Linked DNA regions of Homo sapiens: region 1 is linked to region 2. Evidence: promoter capture Hi-C in 16 types of primary human blood cells and fetal thymus (Javierre and others, 2016). All regions are on one chromosome and are shown on one strand. The core of a region is centred on a gene start or on the middle of the fragment in contact, and the rest is flanking DNA. Distances in the headings are between cores, read along the strand shown. Region 1 overlaps WDFY3 (WD repeat and FYVE domain containing 3). Region 2 holds the start of WDFY3-AS1 (WDFY3 antisense RNA 1).

The links. The method cuts DNA at HindIII sites, captures the fragments that hold promoters and counts their contacts. A CHiCAGO score of 5 or more calls a contact.
Region 1: a contact is called between a fragment that was not itself captured here and the fragment with the promoter of WDFY3-AS1 in region 2, in 1 of 17 cell types (M2 macrophages). The highest score is 5.2, in M2 macrophages.

What each region holds. Positions count from the first base shown.
Region 1 is chr4:84,715,750-84,720,304 of GRCh38, reverse strand. It overlaps WDFY3 (WD repeat and FYVE domain containing 3), which reads left to right. Exons shown (of 68, transcript NM_014991.6): 48 at 1,735-1,883; 49 at 3,289-3,409. Among named protein-coding and RNA genes, the nearest start is that of WDFY3-AS1, 79 kb to the left of the region's middle. The HindIII fragment of the contact is 588 bases long and covers 1,022-1,609 here.
Region 2 is chr4:84,795,222-84,800,007 of GRCh38, reverse strand. WDFY3-AS1 (WDFY3 antisense RNA 1) reads right to left here and starts at 3,343. Exons shown (of 3, transcript NR_046707.1): 1 at 3,254-3,343. It overlaps WDFY3 (WD repeat and FYVE domain containing 3), which reads left to right. Exons shown (of 68, transcript NM_014991.6): 18 at 1,900-2,012; 19 at 3,256-3,487. The HindIII fragment of the contact is 11,821 bases long and covers 1-4,786 here.

The DNA of each region.
Region 1 (4,555 bases), core at 66-2,565, 78 kb after region 2:
TGACTCTTTTGCTACTCAGGCTTGGTTGCATACCCTTCCTCTATACTTTCATGATGCCTTATATATATCACTCTGTATTATCATGTCATAATTACTTGTTCCAGTATCTTTCTTTCTCGTCCTAGATGTCGAGCTCCTTATAGGCAAACTGTGTCTTATCTCTATCTCATTGCCTTACACAGGTCCAGTTGCATAATAGACAACCAGTAAACCTTTGAATGAAGGAATGATTGGTTTAATAAACAAGGGAATGAATGACTTGAATGTGTCATGAATATCACCTTTTTAAAGGATGTTCTTTTGCCTATTATATTAGATCTTGGTATAACCTTTGAGTTCTTACCCTCTAAGAAGTAGTCACTAGAAATTTGAGTATAATCAAAACAGTTCCGTTCAAATGTATGCCCTAATTAATATTGAATGACAATACATTAGAAAAGATCATGTAACTATAAAAGTACACCAGGTATGAAGGAAGCACAAGAGAGGCTTCTAGGAACTGGGGAGCATTCTGTTTCTTGGTCTGGATGCTGGTCACACAAAATTTTTAGCATTTGAAAATTCATCCAGCCATACACTTAGGAAATAAACATTTTGTGTGTGTGTGTATATGTATGTGTTTATATATAATATATGTATGTATGTATGTATATGCATAAAATATACTGCAATAGAGAAACTTTTAAAGTACATCAGGATTGATCAAATGTAGCAATGAAAATTGACTTATATTTAGATATTTTAGAAAACCTATTACAATGCTTTCATTTTTAAAACTTTTAATCTCATGAGTACAGTTTTTGCTCTGGTTGCTTTAATAGTGCAGGAAGTGTATTCAAACTGACATGTGTTTGACTCTGATTTAATTGCTGATTTTTGTCTTGACTCATGTTGAACTAAGTTTAAGCAAGAAAGAGTTTTTAGAAAGAATTAGATACTGCCCTTTGGGAGAAAACAATACTTACTTTGAGAGATTTAGCAATGCTCCTTCCTATGAGGAAAATACAACTTCTGCCAAGCTTGGCTTTTTGCAATAGTACAGTAGTCTCCAGGGAGCAGAATCCAGGTGGGGAATGAATAGAAACAAATTCTACAGTTCCATTTCCAGGGGGTATGATGGAAAAAGAAGGTAAACTGTGTGGAACAGAAAGCAACCAATAATTCCTAACCTGATTATGTACATTATCTCACTTATTTTTCACAACAAGCCAATTAGAAACTTACAAAAAAAGACATGGAGGCTCAGAGAAATTAAGAAACTTGACCCAGTCTACAAAGTGGCAGAACTGGAAATTTACCCTGAGTTAGCAGGCCCTGCAATTTTCACTCTGTATCATCTTGCCTCACATAGAACACAATCCTATTCTAATCTCCTTACATGTATGCCTCAATTCCCTTTCCTGCCAAGTTTGCTGTGTCTGTCTCCCTTCATGAGAGCAGGAGCCTTATCTAATGTTCTTGACTTTTAGAAGCTAGCGCATGTTTGCCTGGCCTACATAAAGTACACCCGGAATATTGAGAGAGATGGGATTGGCAGATGAGTGGATGGGTATGAGTGAATTGTTTAGTTTTACTCTAGTCAGATGTAAATCAGACTGTAATCTAAGCTTAATCTTCTCAATATGCTTAAACTCTGATTTAATATGCTTAGCTCTAGGGATGCCGTAGTAGTCTAACAAAAATTGATCTTTACAAAAAGCCTATATTAATGAATGTTTGTGGGCTTCTTTATAGATCCAACACATGTACCGCTGTGCTCGAGTCCAGGGCCTAGATACCAGTGAGGGGCTCCTTCTTTTTGGTAAAGAGCATTTTTATGTGATTGATGGATTTACCATGACAGCAACCAGGGAAATAAGAGATATTGAAACCTTACCTCCAAAGTAAGTAAATGAATGAAGAGACATAATGTATGGCTATCTTTAGAAGACAGAAAATGTATTTGCAGTTTTCTTTTTTAATCAAAAAATTGTGTTCTAGGTAATGTTATCTCTCGGTTTGTGTGCATTCATCATTACATATTCACAAAGATGATATTCAGTTATTTTAAGGTAATAATGAAAATGTTTGGCTTATTTATCAAGATGAAAGCTAAATAACATTTATTTCTGTGCATTCTGAGTTATTTATATTATAATGTATATATTTACAAATTTATTCTGAATTTATAAATGGTCCTTTTAAAAAATATAGCAGATATACAATTGTAGAGAAAATACTCTTTTTTTTTTTTTTTTTTTTTTTTTTGAGACAGTGTCTCACTCTGTCACCCCGGCTGGAGTGCAGTGAGTGGCAGTGGCGCAATCTCGGCTCACTGCAAGCTCCGCCTCCCGGGTTCATGCCATTCTCCTGCCTCAGCCTCCCGAGTAGCTGGGACTACAGGCGCCCGCCACCACGCCAGGCTAATTTTTTGTATTTTTAGTAGAGACAGAGTTTCACCATGTTAGCCAGGATGGTCTCAATCTCCTGACCTTGTGATCCGCCCGCCTCGGCCTCCCAAAGTGTTGGGATTACAGGCGTGAAGAATACTCTTAAAAATGAAAGAGCATCATCAGGTACTCGGAGCACCCTAGAAACAGCATGACTAAAGCATTAGCAGAGATTTACTGACTGAGTTGTAGGCATCTTCCTTTTCTTCTACCAGTCCTGTGATGAAAGTGGTAGTGAGTAGTGGAAAACTCAGGAGACAGACCAACCTAGAAGAAAGTTAAGAAGCTTAGGGCTTAGAAGATCAACAGGCTGCTTCTCTTCCTTTAACATTTTCCTAGCACCCTTGAACACAGACATTGTTTCTGTAGTTCATTCCTAGGAGATATTTCAAATAATTACTGTCAACAACAATCAGGGTCACATGAAGTCTTTCGTGGGTCCTTTTTCCATACAAAAATATTTAAAATTGTATGTTGTGGCTAATGGTATAAATATAATCTTATATTAAAATGTGTTTTTCTACCTAAAAGTTGATTTTTTTTCTGATTTTTAAAAGAAATTAAGACATTTTCTTGGGCCCCAAAATATGTGAGCTGAGGCACTGTGCTAACCATGTCTGGTAGATAACTTGGTCCTGACAGTAATAAGGGGATTTTTAAAATTATATTCATCAAAGGGGGTTCCTTGTATCTCAGGTAGCTAACAAATTCTTCTTGTAAATATATTTTTTAACTGAAAATTCTGATATATATTACTCCTCCATCCTGTTCATGTGTTTAAAATTAGCACGCCCTTTATGGAACAGTGAATTTATCCCTTGCTGTGTTTTTATTTGCTTTTTCTCTTGGCTGCCTGTAGTATGCATGAGCCTATTATTCCTAGAGGAGCCAGGCAAGGCCCTAGTCAACTCAAGAGAACATGCAGCATTTTTGCATATGAAGATATCAAGGAAGTTCATAAAAGGAGATATCTCCTGCAGGTGAGTCAATTTAGTAGTACTGTTTTATCATGTTTCTTTATTCTGAAAATGTATTGTTTTATTTTATTTTATTTTTTATTTTTTATTTTTATTTTTTGAGACAGAGTCTCACTCTGTCGCCCAGGCTGGAGTGCAGTGGCATGATCTCAGCTCACTGCAACCTCCGCCTCCCGGGTTCACACCATTCTCCTGCCTTAGCCTCCCAAGTAGCTGGGACTATAGGCGCCCGCCACCACGCCAGGCTAATTTTTTTGTATTTTTTTAGTAGAGACGGGGTTTCCTTGTGTCAGCCAGGATGGTCTCGATCTCCTGACCTCATGATCCGCCCGCCTTGGCCTCCCAAAGTGCTGGGATTACAGGCGTGAGCCACCGCGCCCGGCCGAAAATGTATTATTTTAAAATTGATACATGCCATGGAAACCCTCAATAGGATCTGCATTTTTTTTTTTTTTTTTTTGAGATGGAGTCTTGCTCTGTCACCCAGGCTAGAGTGCAGTGGCACGATCTAGGCTCACTGCATGCTCCACCTCCCTGGTTCACACCATTCTCCTGCCTCAGCCTCCTGCATAGCTGGGACTAGAGGCGCCTGCCACCACGCCCAGCTAATTTTTTTCTGTTTTTTAGTAGAGACGGGGTTTCACCATGTTAGCCAGGATGGTCTTGATCTCCTGACCTCGTGATCCGCCTGCCTCGGCCTCCCAAAGTGCTGGGATTACAGGCGTGAGCCACCGTGGCTGGCCAGGATCTGCATTTAGAATAATCCTTAGATATGGTTATAGACAGACTCAGGTCATGTGGATGCATAATTTTGTATAATGCATTTCTCTTGTTTAAACACAGCCTAAAATTTGGGTAATTATCTTTGTTATCCATCTTTCCCTGTAGCTATCCAAATCAACATTTTAGTTTTCTTCTAATATAAAAATTACATCCTTACTATAATTTTATAAAATTATAATTATAAAATTATAATTACTTTTTTTATTCTGTTACTAAAGACTTTAGAAATAAATTGAGCAGAATAAGAAATATCTATTTATTGTGTAGCTTAATCTGCAGGGAATTCATGACTCTAAAAGTGTTAGCAAATTAACTTCTTTTTTTTTTTTTTTTTTTTTTCTGAGACAGAGTCTCGCTCTGTTGCCC
Region 2 (4,786 bases), core at 2,094-4,593:
TAGAGAAACACACAGAGAGAGAGAGAGACATTGTCCCATACCTAATGCTACTATTTTACCAGATAACTTACATTGCATAGTTAGATAAATAGAATAAGCAATGAAAATCAACCATTGGGTATGGTCAGTTTTCACAATTAGTGAGTTCTCAGAAAAAAGAAGTCAAATGATGGTACAAGTACTTTGCTACTTAAAAGCCATAGATTATAAACTAATTGTGTCTAACGTTCTACATGAAAAACTGGCAAACCTAACTTGTAAGCCTTTTTTGTTTCCTGCTGTAGGGAGTTGAAAATTTGGAGTATTCTACTTTTTTTTTTAACATGATGTTATAAATGACAGGTTATGGAGGGTTTATGCTCTTAAAAAATGTATCGTCTAGTAAAGAATACATGCAGATAAGCAGGAAATGAAAATATTGTTTATTAAGTTCGTAATAGCAGTGTTACAGAGTTTATATAGGGGCAGAGACTTTTGGAAGTGTGACTCAAAGCAGGCTTCCTGGAGGAAATGACAGTTAATGAAATAAAGTATGAGGCCAGGCAGTGTGGCTCATGCCTGTAATCCCAACACTTTGGGAGGCCAACGCAGGAGGATTACTTGAGGTCAGCAGTTTGAAATAAGCCTGAATAACATAGTGAGACCCTGTTTCTACAAAAAAAAAAAAAATATATATATATATGTATTAACTAGCATGGTGGCGTGTGCCTGTAGTCCTTGTTATTTGGGAGACTGAGGCCGAAGGATCTCTTGGGCCCAAGAGTTTGAGATTGCAGTGAGCTATGATCACACCACTGCACTCCAGTCTGAGTGACAGAGCAAGAGGCTGTCTCACACACACAAAAAAATGATGATAAATAAAAAACTCTAAAGTATGGAAGAGAGTTAATCAGGTGAAAAAGTAAGGGCAAGATTTTTTTCCCCAACAAGAAAAACAAATATGGTGGTCCAGGGTAGAGAAGGAGTACAGCATTCTTAGGCAGTCAGAAGTTTTATGTATGTCTTAAGTAGAATTTATGATTGCGGGAAAGATGGGAGCAGTGAAGCTGGAGAGTACAGTAGAAATCATCTCATGTATGGTACTGAATGCTAGCTGTTTTGTGTTTTCAACTACAGAAATGGACAGCCATGGAAGAGTCTTAAGCAATAGAGTGACACTGTGTAGATTTAAGTTCTGTGAGATACTGACTATAGTGAGGAATGGATTGAGTTGGGGCAATATTGGTGTCACAGGAGGTAATTAAGACTCTGTTTTAGGAATAGTAAAATAATATGGTCTGGGTGATAGCAGCAAGAATGAGAGAAAAGAGCAGATTCCATATTTTTATGAGTAGAAATAGCAGGATTTTCTGATTTTCTGAATATGGAAAGTTAAAGAAGGAACAAAAACACATTTCAGTGAGATGCAGAACATAAGAAATGCCCTGGGTTTGGATATAAGGTGATGAGTTTGGTTTTAGAAATATTTGAGTTGGGGTTCTTCTTAAATATTATTAACTTCTAAAAAATGAATTTATAAAAATGTATAGCAGATATATAGCTATATGGTGATTAGATGTAAAACTAACACTGTGTATGTTTTACTATACTTGCATTTTTTGTATTGTAATTAGTCTGTTGGAATTTATTAAATTCCTTTTTTGAAAATGTTTGGTTTATGAATTATAATATTCTCAACGAAGGAATAACTGTCTAAAAAACATTCTAAAAAATATGTGTCAGATATATAGCTATATGGTGATTAAATGTAAAACTAACACTATATTGTTTTATTATACTTTGCATTTTTTTATTGTAATTAGTCTGTTGGAATTTATTAAATTCTTTTTCTGAATATTTGGTTAATGAATTATATAATAATCTCAATCAAGGAATAACTTTGCTTTGTCTCTTTCTTAGGGAGTTTTTACGTTTGGCAAGTCCTTTAAATTGTGGTGCCTGGGACAAAAAACTGCTAAAACAATATAGGGTCCACAAACCAAGTTCACTGAGTTATGAACCAGAAATGAGAAGTAAGTTTTGAAATTCCCTTTTTTGATTTATTTTATGAATGAAAATCATGTAGGGGATGAATATTATTTCAAGAAGTTTGTGAAAGCAAAGAAAGAGAAGGGTTTATTATTTAAATAGGGAAACAGGCCCGGCGCGGTGGCTCACGCCTGTAATCCCAGCACTTTGGGAGGCCGAGACGGGCGGATCACGAGGTCGGGAGTTCGAGACCATGGTGAAACCCCGTCTCTTCTAAAAAATACAAAAAAAATTAGCCGGGCGCAGTGGCAGGCGCCTGTAGTCCCAGCTACTCGGGAGGCTGAGGCAGGAGAATGGCGTGAACCCGGGAGGCAGAGCTTGCAGTGAGCCGAGATCGCGCCACTGCACTCCAGCCTGGGCGACAGAGCAAGACTCCGTCTCAAAAAATAAATAAATAAATAAATAAATAAATAAATAAATAAGAATTGAGTTGTGATTTCCTTTGCTAAGAGTAGAAACAAAAATAGTTCCTTTCCCTAAGAGAATATTTGAAATATCTTTGTAGTTGCCTGAATATCCAGCACATTTAGGAGGAAAACAGTTTCCTATACTCATGTAGTTTATTTCGAGAGAGAATATTTTCTTCATTACATTTGTAATGTGTCCCTGGAGAGATAATGACAATCTGTTTAGAATTTGTCTTTTTATTCTTGAAATTGTTACCCTTTTTATAAATATGGGAATCTTTAAATTAAAGTACTTTTACGATCATGCATTTAGTTCTAATAATTGTAAGGAAAGAATTAATAATGGGGAAAAAATGGGAGAAGCAAGTTTCTGCCATTTATCTCTAATTTGTTTTATAATAAAGATGACCTATTTCTTTTCATTTTAATGGTCTAAAATTGTTTACTTTTCCCTCAAAGAGAATTAATAAATCATAGTTTTATGAAATAAAAGTATTTCCTGATTTGTAAACTATTAACTGAGATTTATAATTAAATTACATTGTATCAGTGGCTTTGATGACAATTATTTGAGATGTTTATTTTTATTTATACTCTAGTTTCCAACATTTCTGCAGTGTGCATATTGCTTTAGTAAAAAAGGAAACGCATGCTATTAAGTTTAAAAGTAAATGTACATTAAAACTGGATAATGATCTTGGCACTTAAAAAAAAATTATTGTCTATTGAAACTGAAGTGGTATTTACAAATAAATCAGCCTTGTAAAGTTATTTTGAAATTCCATATGACATTTTCCCAAGAGATTTCCTTGACTTACAGGTAGTATGATCACATCTCTGGAAGGTCTGGGTACTGATAATGTTTTTAGCTTACATGAAGATAACCATTACCGGATAAGCAAGAGCCTGGTAAAATCTGCGGAAGGAAGTACTGTACCCCTGACCAGGGTGAAGTGTCTGGTCTCCATGACAACCCCACATGACATCAGACTTCATGGGTCATCAGTTACTCCAGCTTTTGTTGAATTTGACACATCACTTGAAGGGTTTGGGTAAGAAATTTGCAAGGAAGCCAACCTTTATGGTTTTATGCGTCATACTTGCCTTTACAAATAGATCTTTGGTTTTAAATATACTTAATTAAAATATATTTTACCATACTTAATATTTTTTAATTATTGAGTTTTTTGAGCATGCTATTTTAAGATTACTACATTTAATTATTTTTGTTTGTTATACAAAATAAATTGATATGACATAGGAATCCAAAATCTTAGGCCCATGGACCAAATCTGTTTTGTTAGTAACACTTTTGCAAATTTTTTTTTTTTTTGTAAATGAAGTTTTATTGGAAAACAGCCACACTCATTTATATTTCCTATGGCTGCTTTTGTGCTAGAGTGTCAGAGTTGAGTAGTCATGATGGAGACTGCCTGGTTCACAAAGCATTAAATATTTATGATTTGGCCCTTTCCAGAAAAAGTCTGCCAACATCTAATGTAATAAATATAAATGTATAGATAATATATAAATTAAAATTAGATTGAAAACTCTTTGGGTTTTATCATCATCTATCCTTCAAATTACCTAGTATAATAATTTATACATTATAAATATTCAATGACTGTCACTTCAAATGAATAAATTATTTCAAGTGGCAGAAAAGATTATAGTAACAGAAATGGCAATAATGAATCTAAAAAATCTATAAGAATTCATGAAGTTCAACAGCCTAAAATAGACACAAATGCTAATAGATCTGGTAGCTAGATCTGTTAGCTATTAGAGTTTTGTTTTTTTTTTTTCCTTTTGAGTCAGAGTCTTGCCCTGTCACCCAGGCTGGAGTGCAATGGCGCGATCTTGGCTCACTGCAACCTCCGCCTCTCAGGTTCAAGCATTTCTCCTGCCTCAGCCTCCCAAGTAGCTGGGATTATGGGCGCACGCCACCGCGCCTGGCTGATTTTTGTATTTTTAGTGGAGATGGGGTTTCGCCATAGTGGCCAGGCTGGTCTCGAACTCCCGACCTCAAGTGATCTGCCCACCTTAGCCTCCCAACGTGCTAGGATTATAGGCGTGAGCCACTGTGCCCAGGCTTAGAGTGTTAATTCATAATTTTTATCTATACTAGTTGTTTGTGGGATTCTTATATTGATTGAAACCTCTGTGTTTTAAGAATATTATCATGGGTCATTATCAAACAATAGATTAAAACATGATTGGGAATAGTCAAAAGCAATCAGTGGTAACAAGAGAGTGACAGTAAGGGGCACATGGGAGTTTTCCTTCAGTGATGAAATTGTTCTAATGTCTTGATTGGGTTTATACGTTAGAGTATGTTGCCATATGCATTT